7 separate regions of the Homo sapiens genome follow, and regions 2, 3, 4, 5, 6 and 7 are each linked to region 1. Evidence: promoter capture Hi-C in human tissues and cell types (Jung and others, 2019). All regions are on one chromosome and are shown on one strand. Each heading gives the region's core, a stretch centred on a gene start or on the middle of the fragment in contact. The rest is flanking DNA. Distances are from core to core; before and after follow the strand shown. Region 1 holds the start of TPGS2 (tubulin polyglutamylase complex subunit 2). Region 2 overlaps RPRD1A (regulation of nuclear pre-mRNA domain containing 1A). Region 3 holds the start of RPRD1A (regulation of nuclear pre-mRNA domain containing 1A). Region 4 has its middle 19 kb from the start of RPRD1A. Region 5 overlaps SLC39A6 (solute carrier family 39 member 6). Region 6 overlaps ELP2 (elongator acetyltransferase complex subunit 2). Region 7 holds the start of MOCOS (molybdenum cofactor sulfurase).

The links. The method cuts DNA at HindIII sites, captures the fragments that hold promoters and counts their contacts. A contact is called where the count stands out against the background at its distance.
Region 2: a fragment that was not itself captured here is called in contact with the fragment with the promoter of TPGS2 in region 1 in 1 of the 25 tissues and cell types used here (spleen).
Region 3: the fragment with the promoter of RPRD1A here is called in contact with the fragment with the promoter of TPGS2 in region 1 in 1 of the 25 tissues and cell types used here (IMR-90 fibroblasts).
Region 4: a fragment that was not itself captured here is called in contact with the fragment with the promoter of TPGS2 in region 1 in 1 of the 25 tissues and cell types used here (spleen).
Region 5: a contact is called between a fragment that was not itself captured here and the fragment with the promoter of TPGS2 in region 1, in 1 of the 25 tissues and cell types used here (bladder).
Region 6: a fragment that was not itself captured here is called in contact with the fragment with the promoter of TPGS2 in region 1 in 1 of the 25 tissues and cell types used here (lymphoblastoid cells).
Region 7: a contact is called between the fragment with the promoter of MOCOS here and the fragment with the promoter of TPGS2 in region 1, in 1 of the 25 tissues and cell types used here (IMR-90 fibroblasts).

The regions. Positions count from the first base shown.
Region 1 is chr18:36,826,703-36,830,851 of GRCh38, forward strand. TPGS2 (tubulin polyglutamylase complex subunit 2) reads right to left here and starts at 2,300. Exons shown (of 7, transcript NM_015476.4): 1 at 1,981-2,300. The coding sequence starts at 2,065. KIAA1328 reads left to right here and starts at 2,425. Exons shown (of 10, transcript NM_020776.3): 1 at 2,425-2,494. The coding sequence starts at 2,437. RefSeq lists enhancers at 1,660-1,769, 1,870-2,662 and a silencer at 2,060-2,659. The HindIII fragment of the contact is 11,405 bases long and covers 1-4,149 here.
Region 2 is chr18:36,024,753-36,028,901 of GRCh38, forward strand. It overlaps RPRD1A (regulation of nuclear pre-mRNA domain containing 1A), which reads right to left. Exons shown (of 7, transcript NM_018170.5): 5 at 2,432-2,558; 6 at 2,148-2,323. Among named protein-coding and RNA genes, the nearest start is that of RPRD1A, 41 kb to the right of the region's middle. RefSeq lists a silencer at 294-588. The HindIII fragment of the contact is 4,412 bases long and covers 1-4,149 here.
Region 3 is chr18:36,065,125-36,069,273 of GRCh38, forward strand. It overlaps RPRD1A (regulation of nuclear pre-mRNA domain containing 1A), which reads right to left and starts at 2,435. Exons shown (of 7, transcript NM_018170.5): 1 at 2,130-2,435. The coding sequence starts at 2,280. RefSeq lists enhancers at 2,135-2,274, 2,158-2,673, 2,385-2,614. The HindIII fragment of the contact is 14,008 bases long and covers 1-4,149 here.
Region 4 is chr18:36,084,166-36,088,314 of GRCh38, forward strand. No RefSeq gene overlaps it. Among named protein-coding and RNA genes, the nearest start is that of RPRD1A, 19 kb to the left of the region's middle. RefSeq lists enhancers at 484-1,038, 2,147-2,700. The HindIII fragment of the contact is 5,618 bases long and covers 1-4,149 here.
Region 5 is chr18:36,106,273-36,110,421 of GRCh38, forward strand. It overlaps SLC39A6 (solute carrier family 39 member 6), which reads right to left. Exons shown (of 10, transcript NM_012319.4): 10 at 2,259-3,473. The coding sequence ends at 3,321. Among named protein-coding and RNA genes, the nearest start is that of SLC39A6, 21 kb to the right of the region's middle. The HindIII fragment of the contact is 4,534 bases long and covers 1-4,149 here.
Region 6 is chr18:36,151,597-36,155,745 of GRCh38, forward strand. ELP2 (elongator acetyltransferase complex subunit 2) reads left to right here. Exons shown (of 22, transcript NM_018255.4): 12 at 3,254-3,403. Among named protein-coding and RNA genes, the nearest start is that of ELP2, 24 kb to the left of the region's middle. The HindIII fragment of the contact is 6,175 bases long and covers 1-4,149 here.
Region 7 is chr18:36,185,026-36,189,174 of GRCh38, forward strand. MOCOS (molybdenum cofactor sulfurase) reads left to right here and starts at 2,472. Exons shown (of 15, transcript NM_017947.4): 1 at 2,472-2,656. The coding sequence starts at 2,515. COSMOC (cell fate and sterol metabolism associated divergent transcript of MOCOS) reads right to left here and starts at 2,410. Exons shown (of 2, transcript NR_134605.1): 1 at 2,210-2,410. RefSeq lists an enhancer at 694-1,516 and silencers at 2,276-2,539, 2,385-2,574. The HindIII fragment of the contact is 25,317 bases long and covers 1-4,149 here.

The DNA.
Region 1 (4,149 bases), core at 1,050-3,549:
GCCATGAGTAGGACTATCTCCTGAGTCCTGTAATCCTTGCGTCAAATCATTGAATCTGGTGTGATCTTGGGGAACCCTAATACAATTTTTGTTCCTGATTTTAAGGGGAAAGCTGCCAGTCTTTCACCATTACATATGATGTTAGATGTGGGTTTTTCATAGATGTCCTTCATCAGGTTGAGGAAATTCTATCTCTATCCCATCCTATTTCTAGTTTGTTGAGTTTTTTTTAATCAAGAAAGGTTAGATTTTGTCAAATGCTTTTTTTATTAAGATGATTATGCAGTTTTTGTCTTATTCTATTAGTAAGTTGTATTATATTAATTGATTTTTTTTAAGTTTCTTTTTTTTTAGTGACAGGGTCTTGCTATGTTGTCCAGCTGGACTTGAACTGGGCTCTAATAACCCTCCCACCACAGCCTCCCCAGTAGCTGGAACTAAAGACATGGGCCACCATGCCCAGCTATTAATTGATTTTCATATGTTAAAACCACTCATTCCTAAATCACACTTGGTCTTGGACTTCTATTAAAAGAGACACAAATTTTAAAAATCAACCAAACAAATACATAATTTCAAGTAGTGAAAGTGCTATAAGAATAAAAGAAAAAGCAGGGTAAGGAAAGAGAGAGCAAGAAAGACGGCGGTTATTCGAACTATATTCAGGGAAGGTTTCTCTGAAATAATGACATTTGATCAGAGATCTGAATGACCTGAAGAAGCGAGACATTCAGAGAAAGATAATTCCAGGTGCAAGGACTAGCAAACTGCAAAAGCCCTGAAGCAGGAACCCGCTTAGTGTGTTTAAGGTACAGCTAGAAGGCCATGTGGGCAAGAGTGGAAACAAAGTCAGAAAGAGATGAGAGCAGATCTTACAGGGACTTGTGGGTCATGGTACAGACATTTGGATTTTATTATAATTGTGATGGGAAGGCACTGAAGCATGCTTTTCAGCCTTCTTAAAAGACCTTTCTCCTCCTTAGTTTTCTGGCTAACTCCTATATGTCTTTCAAAATCTAGCATCATCTCCTCTGTGACATGTTCTTTAACTTCCCTGGTAAGATCAGTCCCCTCCTCTGTGACATCTCTGAGTAACAGATTACTGACCTCTTTTCACACTCCTAGTGACCTCATTTGTTTATTTTTTTCACAGAACTGTGTCTTTTTCATATTTTTAACCTCACGTCTAACATAGTGGTGAGTACTAAAGAAACGTTTGATAGGCCAGGCGCGGTGGCTCACGCCTGTAATTCCAGCACTTTGGGAGGTCGAGGCGGGTGGATCACCTGAGGTCAGGAGTTCGAGACCAGCCTGGCCAACATGGTGGAACCCTGTCTCTACTAAAAATACAAAAAAATAGCTGGGCGAGGCAGGAGAATTGCTTGAACCCAGGAGGCGCAGGTTGCAGTGAGCCGAGATCGCGCCATTGCACTCCAGCCTGGGCAACAAGAGCAAAACTCTGTCTCAAAATACAAACAAGCAAGCAAACAAAGAAATGTTCGATAAAAGAAAAACTCTGAGTCATTCAGTGGTGCAAGGTTGGATTCCTTTCAGACCCGACGTAGTTGTCGCCCTGGGAGGTCGGGTGCATTACTTCCCCCAGAGAAAGGTCTTGGGTTTCGGGGATAATGCCCTGGCTGAGAATGCCTCCTAGGGGGAGATCCAACTTCCCAACCGTCAGGTGCTTGCTGTGTTCCCTTTGCACGTCTCTGCCCGTCCTTCCTGGGTGGGACCTTGGTTGGCGGTGAGTGGGGGAAACTTCAGGCTTCCCAGCTCTGCCTCCGAACACTCCTGGCAAACACTTTCAAGGCCTAATCACAAACCCAGGTCCCCCACTTTCCTCTGTAACAACGGAAGTCCCAGCAGCGATGTCCACTCCTGTTCTGGGGCCAGCGTCGCACCGCTCACCCCGCACCTCATCCCTCCGCTCCTCCTTCCTTCTCCTCCACACCCTCTCGGCACCGTGCCCCCTTTCCTCACCTAGGATGCGCGTGATGCCCAGGGTCAGCTTCTCCAGGTGCGGCTTGCTGCAGCCCAGCCCCGGGGACGATGCCTCCTCCTCCATGGCTCGCGACCGCGATTCGCGCGCGGCGGGAGCGGGTGGAGGGCCGGACCCCGCCTCAGCGCCGAGGCCAATTTCATGGCATGCCGGGAACGGTAGTTCTCGGCGCCTGAAAGCGCGGCGCAGTGATGATGGGGGCCCGGGGTTGGTCTGACAGCAGCAGCTCCGTGGGGCGCCGGTTCCCGCGGCCCCGCCCGGTGCCCCACACCGCACCTCCGGGACGTAGCTTCCCCTTCGCCCCCACCCTCTCGCCCCGCAGGGGCCGGCCGCGCAGGCGGGGGCGGGCCTCTGCGTGGTGCGGCCAATGGGGACCGAGCCTGCAGGCCGAGGCGTGGCGGCCCAGGCGCGACGCCCCGAGTGGCGGTTGTTTCAAGATGGCGGACGTGGCGGGCCCCTCCCGCCCCAGTGCCGCGGCGTTCTGGAGCCGGGACTGTATCCTTTGCCCGCCTGACAGGGGGCGCCGGCGCCCTCCACGGGACGGCGAGGGGCGAGCCGTCGCGTGGCAGTCCGAGAGCGGAGGAGAAGCTCCGAACTAACCCCGGGGATGGGGACGTGCTGCTCGGCCCCAGTCTAGGTGCTGGGCTCTCCCCTTGCTTGGGTGTTAGGTGGCCGAGAGACTGGTACTGTCTGCAGGTGTGGGGACACGGCTCAGATGCTTCCCAGCGCTCACTACCGGTGAGCTCGAGAAAGATAGCCTTGAGTCCAGGCTCAGTCCAGGGCTGAGATGGCCCTCCGAGGTCCCTCTGCCCACCCTGTCAGAGTGCCCCCAGGCTGACTTGAGTGTGCGGAGCTAGCTCGAAGTTGAGGGAGGAGTCGGTGTTGGCTGGACAGGGAGCCTTTTTGTTTTGATTTAGGATTGTCTTTAGTCTGCATTGCTAGGAGCAAGTCAGGACCTTTCGGACTTAAAAGGCCCTCCAGTGATGATGTATTTTAATACTGGGGTTTTAGGAGAGGTGTGGAGCTTGGTTACTGGGATGTGGTCTGGTGGTGCTGGTTACTGCGTAAGATGGGAATCATTGTGCCTGGAAGTATTGTTGACTTACTTGTGGAGTGCGGGTCACTGGCAGTCATTGAAGTTCTTGGATCGTTGTGAGGTGGAGAAGCAGTGGAACTTTTTAGTCCAGTGGTAGTATTACCAGTTCAGCAGCAGTGATGAGATGTTTGTGTGACAGGAGTGTTTCTTTCCTTGGAGTAGGTAGACTCTTCTCGCTTGAGCTTTGGTCCTGATAATTTACTTCACGTTCCTTAGAGGGGTTACTTGAAAGAGGGACGGCAATCTGTGTTACTGAGTGCTTGCAGAGGCAGCTCTTTTTGTGTTTGCTAGGATTGGTGATGGCATTAATTGAGGCGTTGCTGTTACCTTTGGCAGAATCACTGGGCATTCTTCTTAGCTCCCAGTGAAACTTACAAAACTGTGTTATCAACTCCTTTGTTGAGTTACTAGGATTAGTGTCATGTGTAGAGAGAGGGATATGTTTGTATTCTGTGCTGCTCGTGTTTAGTGTTTGCACTTACTAGACATAATTACCATTTGTCTCTGATAGGTTGGTGAAAAGCAAATGAAATCATGTACATACACTGTGGATGAAAGCATACTAGTGCAGTGTGCAAATTAAATATTTTTTCCTTTACCTTTCAGAAGAGAATATGTGCACTGTGGACAACTGGGCTGAATTAGGAAGTTAGGAAATTGGGATAAGTCTTTTCTCAAGAAACACTGCTTCTGCATTGACATAATTTTGTGATGGAGGAGATACTTGAAGGTTATTAGCTTATAGCATCCTATGGTACTGTTCAAATATAGAATCAATGGTTTGGGGGGGGGACAAGCTATTGCAATGGGACTGAATAAGTGTATTAATAGATATATGGACTGAACCTAAGCTCTTGGTCTTCGCACCCAGTACTTTCACTTACTCATGTAGTTATATCACCCCCTATTTTATGTAGAAGTCATATATACTCCGTTATCTCTTGTATTCTGACTCCCAACATTTAATGTAAAATATTCGTCCTCTCATAGATAGTGAGGAATTGAAATTGTACAGGGGAAAAATGGTGGCGATTATATCCTATAAGATCTAATT
Region 2 (4,149 bases), core at 813-3,312, 800 kb before region 1:
ATAAATCTTCACCTCTCAGTCTCAACTTCAAAGTGATGCCACCTACTTGGTACAAAAAAGTCTAAATATCTCAAATCATTTCCACATCTTCTACAAAGGAATAACATAGTTCTAAGTGATAATTTACAAAGAGTTCTGTGGAATAACTTTCAAGTTTATTTCTGTACTTGTAAAGAGTATTTACTTGTTAAAAAACAGCTGAACATAATTGAGGTGATTTCTTCTTTATAATATAAAATCCAGTTATGCAGAAGAACAACAAAAAAAGTTCCTAGAAGGCTTTATTTCAAGACAGTGATTACCTCTGAGAAGAGAGGGAGCAGAAAAAGTTGGAAAAAATAGGACTTTAGCATTTGCTTTAATCTTAGATTTAAGTAAAAACAGGAAGCAATGTGTCTTTTTGATGAAGTGCACTGGCTCTGGAGGCAGATTCTCTGCGTTCCAAACAACTCACTAGCTCTTTGTGACCTTAGGCAAGTTACTTAATCTTCCTGTGCCTCAGTTCTGTATCTATCAAATGTGGATAATACATCCTGCTGTGTAAGATTAAATGAGTTGCTTATGTGAAGTGCCTAGAATAGTACCTGACACATGAATGTTAACATTATTATTATCATCAGCCTCATAATCTATGACTGTCAACTATGAAATGTGGCTGGAAGGCACTGGGGGAAAAGGGGGTTGTGGGGAGTGGCATCTGATCTATTTTCTACAGTTACACTTCAAATATAAATTCTGTTTTTGTAAACAGTGACAAATGACCATCATCATAAGTGAGAAAGTATAAAGCAGAATAAAGTTACAGTCTTCTCTTCAATTTTCAAAAACATGAGACAATACAGGCTTCAGGGTTTGATATTTATTTTTAGCAGGAAGAATATACTAATGGTGACGACATCGTTAGAAGATACGCCCATGTCCAATATCTGCAACAGAAGCTCAATAGAAGTTAAAGAAACCATACTAAAAGACTAAAGACAAAAATTGTATGACATTACTTACCCTTAATTCTGTGGACAATAAAACAATTAACACTATGTTTAAAATTGAGGTTTCATCACAAGGTGAAATAGTGGCAAGTTAATTATCAAATTCATCTTTTAAAAAAAAAAACCATCTTTTCCTTTCCATGTAGAAGTGGGCAACCTCTTCAAAGGTATAGTGGCCACCAACTATCATCATCTGAGGGTATTTATACGAGCAGAGAAGGAGTAAATTGCAAAGGAGTAGTGCTAACTTGAGAGCTGGGAATTTGAGGTGGGAATAATTAAGTAGCAGCTCCCATGGGTAGCAATGGCAATCTAATCTAAGCACCATTTTTGGCACAATTAGAGACTGCTGAATCAATAACTAAACACTAATAAAAATAACTTAATGGGGTAGTACCATGACATTCCTACAAATTTACAGTGAGCTTTCTGTAAATAAAGGGATTCAAATTAGAAATTCTCCTACATATTATTACAATAAGAAATTGCCACAGCAATACAATTTAAACAAGAACTCATCAACTGAAAGATTTTTTTTACATAAAACCAAATCTGGCTCATGTATCCCTAACAATTGCTACTCTAATCAAAGGAAATACGAGCATTTTTTAAAATCACCTCCTGTACTCCCAGATTTCTCATTAGCGGTATTAATTATTACTTAATTTACAGGAGCAATGAATTTCTGCCTAAGAGTGTGAGCCGGGAGTGGGGCTGGAACATGTAAGCATTAGAATTGGCGGGTGGAATTAAGGGAGTAATTTAAAGACTTAATGGTATACCTAAAAGACTACATCTTCTCAAAACAGAAACTAAATAAATCCTACTACAAGTGACTGCCACCTGCTATTTTCCTATTATTTCTGTGATACATTAGGGTTAAACTGGTAAGATAAATTATAGTTGCATGGAATTTCACAAGAATAATTTTTAAATGCAATCAATTTTGCTAATTCCAAATTTCTAAGTTTACTTGCAAGATTAATTTGGTTCAAGTAGAAGAAAAACCATTAATACAAGGAGAAGCTTACCTGGGCTACTGCTTAAAAAGGTCTATGTTAAAAAATGCAAAATGTGCACATAGATTAAAATATTTTAAAATTCCTAACAAAAAGAGAATTAAATAAATAAGCACTAAAGAAGAAAAAGGTTACGCACTTCCAATTTATGCTCTTTCTCTGCAAGGGCTTCCTTTTGACAACGAAGAAAATCTGCTAACATTCGAGTGAGTTGCTTTCTATCATCTATTTCTGCCGCCAATCTGCCATTGTAATCTGCCAGCAACATACACGCATCCTCTACCATTTTGGAAAGCCTTTCTCCAGATTCTTTATCTAAGAAAAGCACGGGATAATAAAATATTATACAACAAAAACAATGACATATGCTGTTCTCTCATCCCAACTCCCAAAAAAGTTCTGGATCACATTTTCTTTTCTTACCTGTTATTTTATCTAATAGAGATACTTCTTGGACTTCAACAGGTAAAGAAGCTATCCTCTGATGAACTGCTGCATCACCTGAGGCTGCATTTTCCAGATCTTGTAATGCTCTAACGAGATCTAGAGTCTAAAAAGTACACAACTTCAGAACCAAAATAAATTGAGCTTAAACAAGTGCAAAAGACTTTAATTTCATATTCTTTCATCCCTATGGGCTATTTACTAGTACAAAGCTCCTAATATAAACTGCTTTTGAAGACAATCAATTTCTTTCATATGTTAAGAAAAAAGGAGGCTATACTATGTTAGGTGTTGAAAATATAAACAGGACAAGGCCCTAGACCTTGAAGAGAGCTTACTCCAGTGGTGGAGACAGAGTAATAATAATTATTTGAGTACTAAAATGAGGTAATGAGGATTTATATGGCAAATACATCAGTGGTGAAAGAGAAGGTAGGCTATAACATCAACCTAGAGAATACAAGTTTTATGTATGATATATTCATTACATTATCATTGTACACTAGAAGTTTTTTTAGTATTAAATTGGATATTATGGAAAGAGGGTTACAAATCATCTACTACAACACAGAAGAGTCTCCCAGATTTCATTTCTAAATGCTGTAATTAAAGCCCAAGAGAAATGTAGTTCTAGAATATGTTCAAATATGATATCTTCAAGTATCCTATGGCTTGTTAATAAGATTAAAATATTTCAAAATTCCATAATCTGATGACTAATATATATTGCTTAACCAGTACTGAAATTATTTTATCATTAAAATATTTTACTTCCACTGTTTTCATACAAGCTATAATTAGGAGGGAAGCGCAACTCTTTGCTGGTGATTTCACAACTCATAATGTCTATAAAGTTATTCCAAAGAAAAACAATTAAATTTTATTTTTACTAGTTTCCATTCTCCAGCCCATCTTTTTCATCTTTCTTTCTTAATTTCTAATACTAGATTCAGAAACACTAGGAAATTACACATATGCTTTAAAAAATATAGGATATTAGTAATTCTGTGTATATATTAAGATTTTTAAACTATTCCCTTGAAAAAAAGGGTAGCACATGACAAATGATCAAATGTGGTAGGAATGAATGAAACTAATAAGAAATATACTATCCTACGTGTGCTCACTCATTAGAAGTGTTTAAAATTTCAGTATTTTAAAAAATAATTTTGTTGTAAGATATATCCCCTCTACAATTAAGGTGTGCTTAAGAGTAACAACAATTACCAGAAAGCTTGTTTCTCATCTTGCCACAACTAATATATTATTTTTAAAATCATTCTTAGAAAATTCTAATTGTCTGGAGTTCTAAGAAGAAATCTGGCTTTATTGTCTTGGCAATGCATTGATGCTTTAATTACAACCTGATCTCATCACACCTTCACAGTCCTACATGAGTACATTCTAAGTTCCCAATGCCTGATCAAGCATCAGATAAGAAAGCAAAGTTGTCTGAAACAATACTAAGCCTACTACTTCCTACCAGAGGAGAATGAAATGAGTTTAACGGGAACCTACAAAGAGATTTTAGCCATTCTTATAAAGAATAACACACACACAAAAATGAAGACCACAAAGCTGAACCATTGATAATTAAGCAGCACAACTAATCTAAAAAACGATCATTATAAAACAAAGAGCAACAGCATTTTACACAAGTACTAGAGGAGAGGCAGATGATTACTTAAAAATACTCC
Region 3 (4,149 bases), core at 1,185-3,684, 760 kb before region 1:
AGCTTCATTCTTGAAGTCAGCGAGACCAAGAACCCACCAATTCTGGACACACTATGACAACCACTATCTTGGAATATGGTGTTAATCACTACTATGCATATTTTAATATAGGTATCTATAAACAAAAGAAGTACTGTTTTGCATGTTTTTAGACTTTACCCCCATAGCATTATTCGTCTGTACCTTGTTTTCTTAGCTCAAGATTTTGTTTGTTTTTCAATTCAGTCACGTTGTTTCATGCAGCTCTAGTCCATTCGTGAGAACTTTTCGATAGTATTACATTTTATTAATATCACAATTTATTTGTCCATTCTCAAACTAATGGAATGGTTTTTTTGTTTTCTTATTTTTTGTAAAGAAAAGGTTTCACTATGTTGCACAGGCAGGGTCTCACTTGTTTTCAATTTTGTTATTATGAAGCTGCAATAAACAATTCTTGAGAACAATACTTATTTCTAGAATATATTCCTAGAAAGAAAACTGCTAGGTCAAAGGATATATTTAATATATACCTCCAACTTCATCAACTAAGTTGATCTACAAAATAGTTACATATTTTTACATTCCCACCAAGTGGTATAAGAGTTCCTGTTTCTCTGCAACAATTATCCATATTGTCATATTATTTTGCCAAATTGATGAACATAAAGTGGTACCTCACTGGCTTACTTTTTCCTGATTTGTAAGATTAAGTATCATTTATTGACCTTTCAGGTTTCCTCACGTGAAATGCCTATAAACAGTACTGCCATTTTTTTTTTTTACTGATTTGTAATAGTTATTAAGAGAGTCTGGGTATCAACCCTATACTGATTACATGTGTTTCTAAATGCTCTCTGCAAAAACAAAAAACAAGATAAACCTGTTACCGATTCTGAAATCTAGTAAAATGTAAAAGCAAAGCTAATTCCTGACTTTTCAAAGTTCACAGCTACTTTCCAGACCTTTATATCAGTGTTTCTGAAACCTTTCCGTCCACTCACAGAAGATGAATTCCTCATTCAGGGCCAATACACACATACTTACACATAAACTGAAAAACAAGGCTGTAAATCAATTTCTTCTCAAGGATGGGTGACGTTTTCATAACCACAAACAATATACAAGGACAGATTGTCTCCATTATATACAGCCAACATTTTGGCTCACATTTTGGCTGTTACGTACATACATCATATAGCTTTCACAAGGTTCAGTAAGCAAGCGTCTATTTTGATTAATAACGGTTAAAACCTTTAACACTTGATAAAAAACCATCATATCCATCAGGATGTTTGCAACAATAATGAAGAGTGTCCACTCTACCCAATGAATTAAGAATTAAAGTACAAGCTCAGACTAAGCAAATGAAATTTTTTATTTTCAGTCGCACTAGGATAATTTTTTACAAAGTTGCTCTGCATACATGAACTGATTCTGAATATTTTAGTGACAGACATCTCAAAAAAGTTTACTTCATTTACAGGAACACTATCAAATGTTTTGCAAAACAAAGACACTGCATTAGGGCATATAATCATAGAATAGGAAAGGACTTTAGGTGACTTACTCTAAATCTCTCCTTTTCAGGTAAGGCATCTGCAACGCAGAAGTTATAAGAAACTTGCCCAATTGAGACCCTCTAAAATCTACAAATTCAGAGTCTTTTCCACTGCATTACCCATCTTCTTATATTAGACTTCTAAAACTATTCCTCTATTAATTTCACAAGAATAAGTTGCTGCGTTACAGAAATGACGGAAGTAACTCCCAAACCCACACCAATCTTTTTCTTTCCACTCCCCTACCTTCTCCCTCCCTTATCCTCCATTATCATTCACAGAATGAAAAAAATACCTGACCACCTGAATTTCTGGCCCTAATTGGGTGTGGAGTCCCAACCCCCTGCTACTGTTTCCGTGTTAAGCTAACCGGAGTTTTCTTTTTTAATTATTCATTCCTTTATTCAATAAATATCTAAGCCCAGACTTTGCAGAAGCGTGGTGCACGCAGCTCCTCCAAGCCCGCAGACCACCGCGCGCTGGCATCCCGACGCCGGGAAGCCGGGGGCGCTGGAGAAACGGGGTTCCCGGGGGCGCCTGGAGGCCGGCCGGGTGGTGGGAAGCGGCCGACATAAGCGGTTGACTCACCTTTCCGCAGCTCCCGCTCCCACACGGTGACGATGGGACGCGAGTGTTTACGGTGGTGAATGAGCCACAGGGACAAGGTCTGCACGCTCTGCTGCGAGTTGCTCAACTCCGACAGCTTCTTCTCCAGCGCCGCCTCAGAGAAGGCTGACATCCCTCCGACACCACGTTCACGCCGTCCCACGCGGTGGGGCCGAGGGGAGGAGAGTTTCGCCGCCCTAGCTGCGGCCTCGCCCCCTCACCCCACCCTTCCCCACGCTCTCACCACGGCCGCCGCTTCATCCAAGACCGGCCGCAAACCAGCAAGATGGCGTCCGGCCGGCAGTGACGTCACAGGGACCCACGCCCCGCCCCTCCCGCTGCAAGCCCTGGGAAAACGCGCGGCCGAGAAGTGGAACCGCCAGGCGGAAGGGGCGGAGTCGAAACAAGTGCAGGGGAGGCGGACAGGGGCGTGATGCCTGGGTTACTCTCAGAGGCATGGTGGGAGTTTGCCAGGCCTGAACCCTCCTTAATGGAAACTCTGTCAAAGAAGCAGTGATTACAGATCTCTACATAGGCATGTAAACTGGTATAAATTGGGGCAGGCACTTTAAAGACTATTTGCATGACCAATTACGGTTAAAAATACACCTTCCTAAATAGAGTATAGGATGGTGACCAGAGGCTGGGAAGGGTAGTGGGGGAGGGCTAAATAGAAGGACTAATAGAAGGACTAAATATAAATAGGACCTAGTATTTGATAGCATGACAGGGGACTAGAGTCAGTAATAATTTAATTGTACATTTTAAAATAACTAAAAGGATAATTGGATTGTTTGTAACACAAAGGATAAATGCTTAAAGGGATGGATACCCAACTTTGCATAATGCGATTATTAGGCATTGCCATGCCTGTACCAAAATATCTTATGTACTCCATAAATATATACACCTACTATGTACCCACAAAAATGAAAAATGAATAAAAATTTAAAAATTATAAGAATACTCTTTCCTAGCAATTTCACTAATTGCTGTCAGTGCTGGAAAAAACACCAGCATGTTTGCACCAGGAAGCTTATTCTAGGTGTTCAGTCCAACACAGTAACAGTGAAAAATTGGAACATTCACTGTTGCAGTCTACACAGATACGTCTATATTCCATAATACATGCAGCAGTTTAAAATATGGATTAATCCAAGATATGGTGGATTTGGAAGGGTTTGAGTGGGTTTTTATGAGGTTCTTTTTGAGAGAGGGCCTCACTCTCACCCAGACTGGAGTTCAGTGCCATGATCACAGCTTACTGCAACCTCGAATTCCTGGGCTCAAGCATTCCTCCCACCTTGGCCTCCCAAAATGCTGGGATTACAGGTGTGAGCCACCATGCCCAGCTGGATTTTTTTTTAATTACAGAAGCAAAAGTATAGTATACCACTTCTTGTTTAAAGGTATGTAGTTCATATGGGTTCACAAGTACGTAAACTCATGGCAAAGGTTTGGAGGAATACACACCACATGAATACTGGTCTCAGGGAGAGGATCAGAATTGGAGCCCTTAAATTGTGTCCATATTGTTTTCATTTTTACAAAAAGAATACGTGAATATATTACTTATATAGTTAAAAATTAATTACAGAAATCTCATTGTTAATCTAATGCATACACCATCATATTCTAAAATTTTTTTTGAGACCGGGTCTTACTCTGTTGCCCAGGCTGGAGTATGTGGTTCAGTCATGTTCACTGCAGTCTCGACCTCTGGGCTCAAGCAATCCTCCTCTGTGTCGGCCTCCCAAAGTGCTGGGAATACAGTTGTAAGCCACCATGCCTGGCCCTAAATATTAATACAAGAAACTTCCAGAAAGATACATAAGAAACCATAGGAATTCCTAAACTATCTTTTGACAAGCATCGTTCAAGAACTTTGCGGCCAGATGTGTGGCTCATGTCTATAATCCCAGCACTCTGGGAGGCCGAGGTGGGAGGATTGCTTGAGCCCAGGAGTTAGACACCAACCTGGGTAACATAGTGAGTCCCTGTC
Region 4 (4,149 bases), core at 1,176-3,675, 740 kb before region 1:
CCCTTGTGCAACAGCTTCAAAAAAAAAAAGAAAGAAAGAAAGAAAGAAAGAAAAAATACTTAGGAATATATCTAACTAAGGAGGTGAAAAATCTCTACAAGGAAAACTACAAAACACTGCTGAAAGAAATCATAGATGACACAAACAAATTGAAACACATCTAATGCTCATGGATGGGTAGAATCAATATTGTGAAAATACCCATATTGCCAAAAGCAATCTATAAATTCAATGCAATTCCTATCAAAATACCATCATCATTCTTAACAGAACTAGAAAAAAATCATCCTAAAATTCATAGGGAACCAAAAAAGACCCTGCAAAGCCAAAGCAAGACTAAGCAAAAAGAACAAATCTACAGGCATCACATTACCTGTCTTCCAACTATACTACAAGGCTATAGTTACCAAAACAGCATGACACTAGTATAAAAATAGGCAAGTAGACCAATGAAACAGAATAGAGAACCCAGAAATAAAGCTAAATATTTATAGCCAACTAATCTTCAACAAAGCAAACCAAAATATAAAGTGGGGAAAGGACACCCTATTCAATAAATGGCACTGGGATAATTGGGAAGCTACATGAGGAAGAATGAAGCTGGTTCTTCGTCTCTCACCTTATACAAAAAAATCAACTCAAGATGGATCAAAAACTTCAATCTAAGACCTGAAATCATAAAAATTCTAGAAGATAACATCGGGAAAACTTATACACATTTGCTTAGGCAAAGAGTTCACGACCAAGAATCCAAAAACAAATACAACAAAAACAAAGATAAATAGATGGTAATGGCAGATGCAGGCCATCTAGAGTGGCCGCTGCTGTCACATGGGCTACAGAGGGGGGGCGCGGGTGGTAGCGGCAGGAGCAGCTGCAAAAGCAGCAACAGCAGCAGTGGGTCCCCTGTGCCCAGTGTTCCTGAGGCAGCCAACTGCACTGCCCCCACCCTTGCATGGCCAGGCAAGACCTATTCCAGGCCCAGAGGCTCTGCCACTCTGGACCCTGGCCCTGCGTCACTGCTGTCACCTACTGCCATTGCAGGGAAGGCCTGATGAGGTGGCAGAGCTGGGCCTGAGGCCAGCTAGAATCAGGGACCAGCGGGAGCTCCCTGGAGCCTGCCATGATAGGCTGCTATGATGGGGCTGGGTGGAGCCCCCCGCTGTGGGGGAGCAGCACAGTTGGGCATGGAGGGGTGGGCAGAGAGGGGCCCAGCGAGGACCTGGAGCTGCCACCCCAGGCTGCATGGAGGCACAGCTGGGGATGCCTGCATGCTCCATGGTGCAAGCAGGAGGCCCACCCTCCCAGGAGCAGGACTCAAGCTCTCGCACTCTGCACCCTAGATGCCATGGATGGTGGCAGGAGGGAGACAGGCTTCTGGGTGAAAAAGGGTGGATCCCTAGTGAGACCCCACCTTCAGGCCAGGGAGGGCTTGAAGGCTGGGGGCTGGGCTGCGAGTCCTGAGCGCCGGAATGAAAACTTGTGGTGTCTTTTTTCTGGGCCCATCCATGGCCACCCATGGACCAATCAGCACACACTTCCTCCCCTCTGAGGCCCATAAAAGCCCCGGGGTCAGCCAGAGCTGGACAGATGACAAGACGACCAGCTGCAGAGGGGAGGTACCCTCTCTGCTGGGAGCTGAACACTTGTTGGGATGACCTGCCTGCAGAGAGGAGCTACCCTCTCTGCTAAAAGCTGAACATTTGACAGGACACCCTGGATGCAGAAAGGAGCTGCTCCCTGCGGGGCTCCTCTGAATTGTCCTATTGCTCATAAAGCTCCTTTTCATCTTGCTCACCCTTCACTTACCTGCATACCTCATTCTTCCTGGTTGCAGGACAACAACTTGGAACTTGCTGAATGTCAAGGGTAAAAAAGCTGTAGCACAAACAGGACTGAAGCATGCCTCTTGCTCACCGTGTTGTAGGCAAAGAGAAGGAGAGAAGAGCTGCAGCCCTTCGGGGAGCCCATACCTGGGAGCTCCCTGAGCCATAACTATGACTGCCTCTTTGGGGCTCTGTGGTTTCTGGCATCTCCAAGCTTCCGGGTATCACCACGTTCCCCACTGCCAGCCATGGAAGCTGCTTGCAGTGAGCCTGGTCTGGCCACAGCCTCGCAGAGAGCTGGTGCCCATGCCAGCATGTGGAGCCGCCTGCCCCGCTGTAGCAGCTGGCATGTCTGACTGTACACAGTGGCCAGACCCCATGCTTGCTCACATACCCCTCACTGTTCCATGCCTGACTCACCCTTAGCAGACATGGGATCCGGGCCTTTGGGAGGCATGTGATCCAGGCCGGTAGTGTGAGCTGAGCGCAGCCTACCAGGCTGAGTGGGCAAAATGAGCCTAGTGAGTTTGAGCAAAACTTGGGCAAAGGTGCCACCAGCCACAGAGGTTTCTAGCCAAAAAGCAACACTCCAATGATTCCATAACAATGGGACCTAATTAAACTAAAAAGCTTCTGCACAGCAAAAGAAATAATCAGCAGAAGGCTGGACACGGTGGCTCACTCCTGTAATCCCGGCACTTTGGGAGGCCAAGGTAGGTGGATCATTTGAGGTCAGGAGTTTGAGACCAGCCTGGCCAATATGACGAAGCCCCGTCTCTACTAAAACTCCAAAAATTAACAGGGTGTGGTGGCTCATGCCTGTAGTCCCAGCTCCTTGGCAGGCTAAGGCATGAGAATCGCTTGACCCCAGGAGACTAAGGTTGCAGTGAGCTGAGATTGTGCCACCACTGCACTCCAGTCTGGTTGACAGAGTGAGACTGTCAAAAAAAAAAAAAAAAAAAAAAAAGAAGAAGAAGAAAAGAAATAATCAGCAGAGTAAAAAGATAACTCACAGAGTGGGAGAGAATATTAGCAAACTATACATCCAACAAAGGACTGATATCCAGAATCTACAAGAAACTCAAACAAATCATCAAGAAAAAAAATAATAATCCCTTCAAAGAGTGGGCAAAGGACATGAACAGCCAAGTCTCAAAAGAAGATATGCAAATGGCCAACAAACATATAAAAAATGCTCAATATCACTAATTATCAGGGAAATGCAAATCAAAACCACAATGTGAAACCACCTTACTTCTGCAAGAATGACAATAATTTAAATATCAAAAAATAACAGATGGTATCGTGGATGTGGTGAAAAGGGAACACTTTCACACTGCTTGTGGGAATGTAAACTAGTACAATCACTATGGAAAACTGTATGGAGATTCCTTGAAGAACTAAAAGTAGAACTGCTATTTGATCCAGCAATCCCACTACTGGGTACCTACCCAGAGAAAAAGAAGTCATTACATGAAAAAGACACTTGCACAAGCATGTTTATAGCAGCACGATTTACAATTGTAAAAATATGGAATCAGCCTAAACGCCCACTAACTGAGTAGATAAAGAAAATGTGGCATTCTACTCAGCCATAAAAAGCAATGAAGTAATGGCATCTGCAGCAACCTGGATAAAGTTGGAGACCATTATTCTAAGGGAAGTAATTCAGGGTTGGAAAACCAAATATCATATGTTTTCACTTGTAAGAGGGAGCTAAGCTATGAGGACACAAAAGCGTAAGAATGATATAATGGACTTTGGGGACTGTTGGGGGAAGGTCAGGAAGGGAGGGTGAAGGATGAAAGGCTACACATTGGGAGCCGGGCATGGTGGCTGCTTGGCACGGTGGCTAATGCCTGTAATCCCAGAACTTTGGGAGGCCAAGGCAGACAGATCACTTGAGGCCAGGAGTTCGAGATCAGCCTGGCCAACATGGTGAAACCTCATCTCTACTAAAAATACAAAAATTAGCCAGGCGTGGTGACAGGTGCCTATAATCCCAGCTACTTGGGAGGCTGAGGCAGGAGAATCGCTTCAACCTGGGAGGCGGAGGTTGCAATAAGCCAAGATTATGCCACTGCACTCCAGCCTGGGTGACAAAGTGAGCCCTTGTCTCAAAAACAAAAACAAAAACAAAAAACCCGATGGCTACACATTGTGTACAGTGTACACTGCTTGGGTGATGGGTGCACCAAAATCTCAGAAATTACCACTAAAGAACTTTCCCATGCAACCAAACACCATCTGTTCCCCAAAAACTATTGAAAAAAGTATTTAAAACACAAGAGTCAAAAAATAATTTAAACGTTTATGAAGTACA
Region 5 (4,149 bases), core at 1,016-3,515, 720 kb before region 1:
TTTTTTGAGACGTAGTCTTGCTCTGTCACCAGGCTGGAGTGCAATGGCGCCATCTCGGCTCACTGCAACTTCCAACTCCCCGGTTCGAGCGATTTTCCTGCCTCAGCCTCCGAAGTAGCTGGGATTACAGGCACGCACCATCATGCCTAGCTCATTTTTGTATTTTTAGTAGAGACGGGATTTCACCATGTTGGTCAGGATGGTATCGATCTCCTGACATCATGATCCATCCGCCTCGGCCTCCCAAAGTGCTGGGATTACAGGCGTGAGCCACCGTGCCCAGCCAGAACCTCATTCTTCAAGGTTGCTCACTGATAACTGGCCAAGGCAAAGAGTGGTCAGGGCCTTACATTCTCGACATATCTGGAAAGTGCAGGTACTCTCAGGGTCCAAGGCAAATTGCCTTTCCTAACGTGGTTTTCATATCAAGGTTACACTAACCTCAATTAACATGAGCTTTCTCTTTTAAATCCCAGAAACTATTTGGATAAATGAGGGATTTATGTCTTGAAGTTTTGGTCAAACACTGTAAACTGGGCCTATGTTTGGGGTGGAGAAGGGGAGAATTTTGATGTAATAATTTTTTTTTTCTTGAGTGAACATTTTGTATTTTCCCAGAAAGCTAATCTGTATCAAAAAGTTCTCAAATGTATAGGCTGATTTTTTATAATTGCTTGAATCTACTCTATTTATATCTCCTTTTTCATTGAAGATATTTCTATTTGTGACTTTTTTTGCCAGTCTGACAAGTTATGTTCCCTCCCAAAAATCAGCCTTTGGTCCACATTCTACAGCTTTTGCATTTTCCTCTCATCTCCATCCTCTGACACAGAGTGATGGGGACTATCTGAATCTTCCATATACCCGTTAACAGGTTCCAGCTGGAGTGGGAACCATAGTTCCTATTTCATCCTGTTTTTGTGGGCTGGTCCAGCACACCTTCTACCTTCAGAATTTCTGTGAAAGAAGGGACAAGTCTCTGTGCTCACCACACTCCTAGAGGTGCATTTCCAGTTATTAAAAGAACTTCCTCACCTTGCACTGATCTAGCAGTGGCACTATGGTAGGTCTGTGAGTTTCTGAAGCAGAGTAATCTATTCAACCAAAGGGGATGCTTAATTTCATCTGTGCAGGCACCCCCAACCAGGTAATTCTGATACCCATCCCCTTCGCTTGGTCTGAGAAACAGAAATGTTGGTGACGTGGTCTCTCAGTAAGCCCTAGATGAAGGGGGGATGGTATTGTCCACTTGTTACTGATTGTAGTGAATGCTTATAATTTTATGTGGCCTTGGCACTCATTGGGAATATAAGTTGGACTTTCCCATACAGAAGCAGAGCTCAGTCACCCTTGACACAGTTTCCAGTTCTATGTCTCCCAGTTCCTCAATGTGGTCCATCCAGATGGCTGCCTTATACAGCTGCTCACTGTCAACCACTTTGCTATGGCACAGCTAGATGCAGCTTGCCTGTCTGGCCTCATTGACCCTCACATGGGCTGTGTGGATATGTCACAGTGACCACCTCTCAGTCACAGAGTGGTCTCCTGGAACTTATGCCTGCTTGCTTTCAACCTAATTGAAACTCCTCAAGGGAAACTTGTTTGAATAATGCCCTGGACCCAATAAAGGCACTGGCCCATATGTCCCTCTCTTTCCCTGCCTGCATTCTCTGACCTCCATGTGTGTGGCCTCCAGATGTGCCATGTACTTCCCAGGACCTATAAATAATAATACCTGGAGTCTCTCTCAAGCATTGAGTCTCATCACAAGCTCTCCATCGTAAAAATCTTGAATTAAAACACTGACTCTCTTGAGAGTGTAGAATATTAATAATGCTTCTTCTACAGCTTTAGGTCCAGTTGTTAAAAAAAAAAAAAAAAAGAGAGACACCCGAAAACAAACTGTGGACCAATATTTTTTGAAGTGTCCTTTGTGATAAACAATTTAAAAATTGAATAAGGCCACCCAATACAATATTATAAATGAATTGATTAGTATACTACAATCCAGATGATAATTTAAAAATTCAGATAGCTCAATTTTTTAGGAACAGAAAGTAGAATGGTGGTTACCAGGGGCTAAGGGAAAATGGGGAGTTGGCGTTGAGTGGGTATAGAGTTTCAGTGTTGCAGGATGAAGAAGTTCTGGAGATTCATTGCACAACATGAATATACTTAAAACTACTGAACTCTACAGTTAAAAATGGTTCCAATGGTAAAAAAAATTTTTTTTTAAAAAGAAAACCAGACATCTGACGTCAAGCTGATATAAGGAATTTATTGTGTAAAAAAGAAACATCTAGAGAATGCCACAGACAGGCCTAGTATGGCTACAGTACCGTATATAAAAGACAATTGCTCACAATGATAGCACTGAAGCACTGAGAGATATCAAAGTACTTTCTGAATCGAATCAAATGATACTTAGTGTAGTTTTAATATCCTCATATATATCAAAGTTTTACTACTCTGATAATTTTGTAAACCAGGTAACCAGAACATCCAGTCATACAGCTTTTGGTGATATATAACTTGGCAATAACCCAGTCTGGTGATACATAAAACTACTCACTGTACTCATCTGGTATATACCCGCACGAACATTTTGAAATTCCAATTTCTTGGTCAAGTGATATATTGCTTGAATTCATTAAATATATTTAGATTTCTGTATTATACAAAGTTAAATGTACAACTAAATTAGTATATGAAAAGTGCTCACTACGTTTTTACGGGAAATAATCCTGACAAAAATGTTTAATGAATGTACTCTATACTAATTCTGCCTTTTTATACTTAATTCTAAATTTCTCCCCTCTAATTTACAACAAATTTTGTGATTTTTATAAGAATCTATGCCTCCCCAATTCTCAGATTCTTCTCTTTTCTCCTTTATTTCTTTGCTTAAATTCAGTATAAGCTTTCTTGGTATTTTAGGCTTCATGCACATTCTTATTCCTAAACACCAGCAGTTCTTCAGAGACCTAAAATCCAGTATAGGAATAACTGTGTTAGTTCTTGAAAAAGCATTAAAGACATTTTTCCCTGAAACATACAGAACATGTCATGCCAAATCTCTTGTTTACATAATAAACTGGTAATACCGGTGAATTGCACATACAGATTTTATCTCCAAGATAGAATAACTTAAATATTAAAACGTACCTTTAACTGACTTTGTAACAGACAGCAATATTCAATACAAAAATCACAAAACCCACTAACTTTAAACGCTGCATAGTACAGCATACAAACTCATCTCCCTATGACCTACTGAAACTATGACAACTTTTTAAGCTACTCTAGCATTTAAACCTTAACTAGAAATTTATACGAAACACGATTTTATGTTCAAATATGGAAATAAGTAACATAATTCCAAAACCCAAAAGCATCCCAGCATTCTGTAAAAAGAAATACCCCCAGCGGCTACATCCATGGTCACTAGCATCATTGTGCAGCATTTCAGGTACCTTTAAAAAAAAGTAAGGGAAAATAAGAGTGACATTTAAGTTTTTAGAACTACAGATTAGTTTTTAGAAAAATTTATAGGACAGTATACTAGCTTTATTTGTAGCTAGATATACTGTGAGTTAATTCCTTAAAACATGATTACATACATACTGACTCTAGCTAACAATGTCACACAGCATTTCCTAGCAGTTTAACAATGATTACTCATGATGTTCTGGGCAAGAAAAAGTTTGTATTGGTTCCAGTTTCCACTGGAAAATGAAAAGCGATATTGATTTTCCTACTTCAGTTACTGGCTGCATATCTGAACTGGATATAACATGTAGTTTGTCTTTAGTTCAGAGATAGAAAACCTTATACTATATAAGATACATATTGTCTTTGATTGCTTACAAAGTAAAAAATAAAAATAAAATAATAAAATACAATTTTAGCGGTAAGATTGGTTGGGATTGTTTTGAGGACATTAGTGACAAAAAGATATGACTCCTTTGTTGATTAATAAACTAAGCATTCTGAAGTATACAGCATGCCAACAATATGCATCTTGTCCTAGACTTCCTACAAATCTATAGAAAATTCACTGCCTGATTACTGAGATCATACCCTAAAATGATACATCAGAAGGATGTAGATATTTTTGTGAATCTGGACACATATTAAGCAAGATAAAGG
Region 6 (4,149 bases), core at 132-2,631, 680 kb before region 1:
CCAGGAGTTTGAGACAAGCCTGGGCAACATGGCAAAACCCCATCTCTACAAAAAAGACAAAAATTAGCCAGGCATGGTTAATTCTTTGGGCTGAAGAAATGATGGTTGGGCATCCAGATCCATTTAGTATCTTCTGTTCTGTTCTGTTTTTTTTTTTTTTTTTTTTTTTGAGGTGGAGTTTCGCTCTTGTTGCCCAGGCTGGAGTGCAATGGCATGATCTTGGCTCACTGCACTCTCGCCTCCCTGGTTCAATTGATTCTCCTGTCTCAGCCGCCTGAGTAGCTGGGATTACATGCACCCACCACCATGCCCGGCTAATTTTTTTTTTTGTATTTTTAGGAGAGACGGAGTTTCACCATGTTAGCCAGGCTGGTCAACTCCTGACCGCAAGTGACCCACCTTCCTCAGCCTCCCAAAGTGCTGGGATTACAGGCCTGAGCCACCATGCCCAGCCAGTTCTGGTTTTTTAATGGTTTTTTTCCAGCTACTCAGAGGCTGAGGTGGGAAGATCACTTGGGCCTGGGAGGGAGGGTGAGGCTGCAGTTAGCCGTGATTGCATCACTGCACTCTAACCTGGGTGACAGAGTGAGACCCTATCTCAAAAAAAAAAAAACAACAAAGATCTTTGTTTTAACACCATCAGTTTCCATTTTATTCTTTGTTTCTTAATAACCATCTAAAGATTTCCACCCTGCCTTTGAATCTCTCCCTTTTACCTTTCCTGTTTTCTTGTCAACCTAATGTTTTTATTAGCATCTGTAAGACTCATGAGAAGCTGAGACAGCAAGTTTAATAAGGCTTCTTGAACGGTTTATTGATTCTGCAGGAGTACCATCACATGGGGTGCCCATGTAGAAGGAACCCCCTTAACCATAGCATTTACTGTGATCTGGGTAACAGGCATATTCAGCAGGTGAATATCCCTGTCATCACATAGCCAGTCTCACAAGGCTTGCATACAAAGCATATTAGCTGCCCCATCTGGGGTGTTACACTTGGCATTTATAGATGATGTTAGGCAGTCCCCATTTTTGGGGGTAAACAGACCTTACAGTGGCATTTATCCAGTCCACCTGGCTGGCCGTTCCCTCAGGAATAATCTCCCGTGTGTCTGGATTATATATCCCCACCCACGATTGTTCACTAGTGAGCTGTGGGTCCTGCATCAACCCAAACATGCTCTTCCACTCTGTAGCATTTAAAACCAAAGATACTGCCCCTAAATTAATCACTTTCATAGTCCACTTTAGCAAAGGTTCCCCAGGAAACTGATGATACCAGTCTATAAGATGGAACAATTCCTTAGCACTACACCCTTTGGTTTCAGTAGTTACTTGGTTTTGCCCTTCCCCCACATTGACTACCTTCTTGGTAACCACAGGACTTAGAAATATTTTCTGTTGTCCCTGCATAATTCTCTGCTTTGTGGGTGACTTTGAGGCTGGTGGCCTGAGCTCGCACCCACATTTTGAGCTGGGTCCAGCCTCAAGTCCTTATCCAGCACCCTCTTGTACTTTCATTTTAGCCATTATAGATAACAGTGACCAAGGGATTGAATTTTGGATTGAATATTTCACTTTTTTCTTTTTAGTTTGCATTTCCTTATGTATCCAATGAACCAACTCTTGGAGTTGGATCTATCCGTAAATTCCACTGGTAACTTTAACCTTTAGTAACTGATCTCAACACAGCTGCAGCTTCATACCATTGGTGAGCACATGATCAAAGATTCCTCATTCCCCACCCTTTTATCCTTTTTCTTCCCAAACCACACGATTCCGTGAGTCAGGGCCTTTCCAGCAAATCCTGCTTCACTAAGTATGTAGGGAAAACTCTCTCTCTTACACCACAGCAATCATTAACTTCTGTGAGCAAATGTGTGGGGGTTTCTTCCCCGACACCAAGCAGCAGACACCAGCTGGGTGTTCTCTAATTCAGTTCCAACACTCTCTACCCAGAGATAGTGTCAGATCCCAGAGGTTGAGGGCTCAGTCCCCAAGACTGCCCCTACCCCAGCAGTCACAGTCCAGGCCTCAGGAACTTCTGACTGACCAGCTTCAAGTTAGGATTCCCTCGACCCCCTCTTTAGGTTCAGTTAATTTGGGGTGACTCACAGAACTCAGGGAAACACTTAACATTTATTGGTTTATGGTATTGAAAGTGACTTGTTTTTTATATAGACTTTTTTTTTTTTATAGAGCAGTTTTAGGTTAACAGCAAAATTGATCTGAAGGTACAGAGTTTCCACGTCCCTCTACCCCCACACATCAACTTGTAGCCTCCCCCACTACATTGTTACAGTCAAGGACGATTTTTTAAAAGCCAAACACTGCCCTTCAGGACTGTTACTGTGGGAAACTGTTAGTCCAAAAGTGCTGTCCATTGCTCAAAACTTTTTGTAAACTCCCATTAGTGCTAACTTTAGAATCAGTTTTTGTTCACAGAGGGAGTAACATTTTTTGTCACAGGCTTTTTTTTTTTTTTTTTTGGCCAGACATAATATAGTTTAGTCACAGACTTATCCATCAGATTAGGTTTTGAATGACCTATTAGCTATTTATACACATTTAATTTTCCTCTAAAGGTTAAGTTTTAGTCCCACTTGAGGTTGTTCAAAAAGGTGCTCTGTGGACCAGGCATATGACATTTTCTATATTTTGTTGTCATTATTTGTTTATATGGTTGTTGTTGCAGGCTTCTTAGTAGGTGAACCAACTAGGTTTGATTCAGTTGTCTGTCCTCTACACCTGTAACTCTTTTTACTTAATAAAGCCATCAGGTCCACATGCAGAACCCACTGACTCGTTTTACACAATATTTTTACATTTTATACAATTTTTATTTAGTTTAATAAATACATAGAACCTAGTGTATACTAGAATTGTCCTGTGTACTTTACAAAAGTAACTCATTTAATCCTCATAATAACCCTAGAAGGTAGGTGCTGTTATAACTGTTTTATTCTATAATTGAGACACAGAAAGGTTAAGTAGTATCTGGCTGCTCAATAAATGATGAATGGAGGGAAATTTCCCACAGTTACTGATTTAAAGGATACAACACATATTTGAATGCTTAAGCTCTTACATGATTGATTGGAAAATGGATCCTATTATTCTGTGATCCGATCTTGTATACTTAGCTTTTCACCTTGCCAGAGGGCTTTAGTCTTCTCTGTTATCAGACGTGAGTGCTTTACTTTGGTGGTAGTCTTTGAGTATTTTGATATGTGATATGAGCACTTCCATTGCAGAGAGAGTGGACTCCAGAGATTGTCATTTCAGGACACTTTGATGGTGTCCAAGACCTAGTCTGGGATCCAGAAGGAGAATTTATTATCACTGTTGGTACTGATCAGACAACTAGACTTTTTGCTCCATGGAAGAGAAAAGACCAATCACAGGTAAAATGTCTTATTTATTTATTTATTTTTTCTTGGGACAGAGTTTCACATCACCCAGGCTGAAGTGCAATGGCACGATCTCAGCTCACTGCAGCCTCCGCCACCCAGGTTCAAGCGATTCTCCTGTCTCAGCCTCCCGAGTAGCTGGGATTATAGGTGCCCACCACCACACCCATCTTCTTTTTGTATTTTTAGTAGAGATGGGGTTTCACCATGTTGGCCAGACTGGTCTCGAACTCCTGACCTCAGGTGATGCACCGCCCCTCCCCCCCCCCCGCCTCCCAAAGTGCTGGGTTATAGGCATGAGCCACTGCAGCCGGCCTCTTCTTATTTTACTAATGTGTTTAAAAGAAAACATCCATGAACACAAGAAAAGTAGGGCAGCCACGCTAGCCATTAGGAAAATGCAAATTAGAACCATGATGAGATACCACCACACACCCTCTTGAATAGCTAAAGTAAAAAATATATTAACAAGTGCTGGTAAGGATGCAGAGCAACTGGAACTTTCATACATTGCTATTGGGGATGCAGAATGATACAGCCACTCTGGAAAACAGTTGGACATTTTATTTTTTGTTTTTTGTAGAGACAGGATCTTGCTATGTTGCTCAGGCTGGCCTTGAACTCCTGGCCTCAAGTGATCCTCCTGCCTCAGCCTCCCAAGTAACTAAGACTACAGGTGTGAGCCACCATGCCCAGCTAATTTTTAGATTTTTTGTAGAGACAGGGTCTTGCTCTGTTGC
Region 7 (4,149 bases), core at 1,222-3,721, 640 kb before region 1:
CCAAGCACACAGTGCCCTAGATGGGCATAGCCAACTGCTTTAAAGTATTTCTGGATTAATGGTAGATCCGTGATTTTTAATAACCTTCAGGAGTTCTGCACTGACTTGGCCTATTCCAATCCATCACTAGGCGAGCTTGTCTGAAGCAGCACCCCTGTGGACTGGTGGTTTGTTAGTTGGCTGTAGAACTCCTTGAGGAGAGGTTCTCCTTACATTTCCAGGGAAATGACCTAGGCCCTCCCTCCTCAGAGTGCCATTCGTGAATGGGGCATCAGCATCACCTGGGCTACTTAGAAACACAGAACCTCAAAGAGTCAGAACCTGCCTTTGAATAGGCTCTCTAGGGGATTCATGCAAATGAATGCCTGGAAACCCTGGCCTAGGGGAGACTCTCACCAGGAAGCAGGGCTTTAAAAGGATGGGTGAGGAGTGACACACTGAACAGCTGCTGGGAGGACCAACTCACCCCTCTCAACTTAGATGGGGAAACTGAGGCCCTGGGAACCACGGTGGCTCACACCAGAGAGTTAGCAAAACACACTTCCCTGCCTGGGCTCTGGAGACTGACTTCCCAGGTGCTAGCTTGTCTTCTAGCTGTGTGCCCGTGTGCAAGTTATTCTGCCTCTCTCTGCCTCAGCTTCCCCATCTGTAAGAGCCACCTCCTAGATCTGCATATTTAATCATTGAACGACCAGGACAGGTAAGAGTGTACACAGTGCAGTGCCTGGCACACAGTGAGGCCCTGTAACTAGCTCTTGTTATTAGTGCTGCCCAAAGCCACATTCACAGAAGACAGTCCAGTATCCAAAGTGCCTGCTTGAAGCATGGCCAGAAGGCAAGCAGATGGTGGGGTGGGCAGTGATGTCAATGAGCAAATGCCTGCATCCATCCATCAGTACATTAACTCCTCCTCGAACAACTATGGGTGTTTGTCGAGTAAGGTCCTGGACATTCAGCAGTGAGGGAGAGAGCGGGGGTGGTCAGTGGGCAGAGGCCACTGAGGAATATGGGTACCTGGGCATGGACCCTAGCGCTGCAGTCCACAGACCCCTGGGTCTCCGGCCAGGGGGAAATGAGCTCTTAGTGGCGGGTCTTTCTCTGGCCTGGTATCAGGGGCCTGGGCGGGAGAGCCAGGGCTGCGTGCTGCCTTCCCATGGCTCTCACGCTGGGCACCGGTATGCATCATGCATCAGCAAGGATCCTAGGGCATCTGCGGCCCATACCCTGGGTGGCAGCTGGCCTGGATGCAGCACAGGTTGAGCTCTTGGGGCATAGGCCTCCTTCCCACCTTGTCCCCCCGCTGTATGCCTCCAGGGCCTGTGGGCCGCCTGCACCTGGTCGCCGGCCTTGGGTTCTCCACCGAGCCTGCCTCTGAGTTATCTCCCCTGAGCCCCAGCACCTGCCGCCCATCCGCACTGTCCACCATCCCTGACATTCGATTCCCCCACGAGGCACCTCGCCTGTGCGTGCAGTACCTGTTTTGCTTCCACCCCATTCCCAGCAGCGGGTTCCGCACCTGGGATCGCACGTGAGATTTCCCCCCACCCCCCAACCGCATGCCTGGGCTCTACTACCTGCACCTGCCGCCCCACCCCTGCATCCCGCTCCGCACTTCCCGCGCATAGGTTTGGCCAGGCCCTCCCTATTGAGGCACCTGTTCTCCAAGACAGAGCCGCTGTGTCCCAGGTGCTCTGGGTGCAGGCGCGAGTGGGGATTGAAGGAGGCGCTCTTATTCCACTCTGTCCGGGACAGGGGCGGCTTTGTCCTAGGGCACTCTTGCTTTAATAGAGAGGGCCCGGCCACACCCACGTGCGGGAAGTGCGGGGCGGGATGCAGGGTTGGGGAGGCAAGGGCAGGAAGTAGGGCCCAGGACGCGGTTGGGAGGGCGGGGAAGCTCAGCTCACTTGGATCCCAGCTGCAGGGCCCGCTCCGGGGGAAGCCCCCGAGCTTCCCGGTTCCGAAAGTGTGCAGCCACTGAGAATTTATTAGCCTCGTGGATCCCTAATCTTTCCCCTTTTCTACCCTTTGGTCAGCCGCATTCTAACAAACGGCAAGCACACGCCCCGCTGGGTAGCAGCAACCCGAGAACGCCCCCACCCCCGCCCCCGCCAGACGCCGGTTCCCGCTTGAGAGGGTGAGGGTCCCGAGACCCCTGCGAGGAGGAGGGTCGCGGGGTTCCAGGATGCCGATGCCAAGCAGGAAAGATCACCTCGTTGCTTCTTCCACCGGCCTCTCCGCGAGACATAGCTAAACTTGAACTTGGCATTCCAAGGGTCTGGAAACATCTTCGTGGGACCCATCGAGAGGTTGTTTAAAGACTGGCACCCGCTCCCGCGCCCAGGTGGGGAAAGGGCTGGCCAGAAGTGAAAGTCCGGTCGGGGCGCCACACCTAGGCTGCGGATTCCGAGAGACTGGGAGGCTGGAGGCCTGGGAGGCGTGGCGGGGGCGGAGTCGCCGGGGGCCGGCTTCGCGCACTTCCCGGGCCCGGCCGGCCTGGATGGACTAGCCGGGGCCATGGCCGGCGCGGCGGCGGAGTCAGGGCGGGAGCTGTGGACCTTCGCGGGTTCCCGGGACCCGAGCGCACCGCGGCTAGCCTACGGCTACGGCCCGGGCAGCCTGCGCGAGCTGCGGGCGCGCGAGTTCAGCCGCCTGGCAGGTGAGGCGGGCGGGCAGGCTTGGGGGACACGAGGTTTCTGGAACCGACGTGGACGGATCTTTTGCTCCTAGTGAGAGCGGCGCTACCTCATTCGGGCGCATTTTGAATCGAAACTCCAGGAGGGACGTGTCCACGCGTCCTCCTAGTAGACACGGCTCCCTGAGGTCCCACCTGCAGCCCCAAGGCTTCTTGCTACTCTTACTCTTCCGACTTTCCGGTGGGCAGGACCAACCTAGCCGTCTTCCCCTTTTCCCGCCCTCCGCGAGCGGGGCTTAGGATGGTTCTTGCCCTCTCTTGCGGGAGACCCCTCACTGTAAAGGGCCTGCTGGGGCCGGGGTTGCAAAAGACAGCATGTCCAGCGGCCGTGACCCTTCGGATGTCCTCCCGAGGTAGGAGCGGTGCGTGGACCGCCAGCGCCCGGGCTGGGACAGCACCTCTGACGGCGCGCCAGGTTGGGACCGGGAGGCCAAGGCCTCTTGGCCGGGGCCTCCCGAGGCTGCGCTCTGCAGACTCCTCTGGGATAGCCTGTATTCAGCTTTGATTTTCGAAACCTCATTTTCCTTACTCTTACAGCGTCAGAACAATCCCTCTGAGCTCCAGTTCTCTGGGGGACTAGAAGAATTAGCAAACAGTGCAATTTCACCTTTAAGAACAGGGCGAGCCTGTGAATTAGACAACACCAAGATCACATCGTGCCTTTCCTCAGAGCGGAACAGGCTGATGAAATTGCAAATCAAGCTCCATCTGGCCTTGGCCGACCCAGCCCTCTGCTGCCAGGGCCCAAGTTCGTGACTCATCCCTCTGCCAGGGACTTTGGGTGCAGGGCTTCATCAAGCCCCAGGGCCGCGTGCCGGATGGTCAAGGAGGGTGTGCAGGTGAAGTGGGCACGTCTTGGCACAGGGCACCGGGGTTTGAGTGTATCTGCTCTGTCGCGATGAACAACTGGTGACTGCTCCCCTTCTGGGGGCAGAACAGCAACCATGACTTAGGTTTCACTACTCGGGTAGCTGATTTCAGCGCTTCGGGTCACTTCCTGGTGTTGTGGAGGGTAACTGTGTTTTCCCTTTGGGGGCTGTGAGAACTGTGGCCTCCTCCTGTGTGTCTCCTCTGGCTTCCTAAGTAGGGAGAGTCAGGAGGGAGACGGGGGTGCCTTCTGCCAACCTCTCTATTCACTCCTCATCCTTCCCTCTCGCAGGGTCACCTGCTGGAGACAGCTCCTCACCCTTCTTTCGTATTCTCTCTCTCTCTCTCTCTCTCAACTATTAATTATGGAAATTTCCTACCACTCAGAAATAGAGGGGTACTATGAATGCCTACAGGTGCTGGGGAGGGAGGCTCTCCATTCTTTGAAGCAACTCTTCAAGGCTACCTGAGTAATTATATCAGCACCGCACCTCCTTAATCCCCTAAATCTCCTCCAGCTGTGATCTCTCACGCCCACTATTGGCCAACCTCTCCCCTCAATGCTACCCTGGGAAAGTAGAGCTATGTTC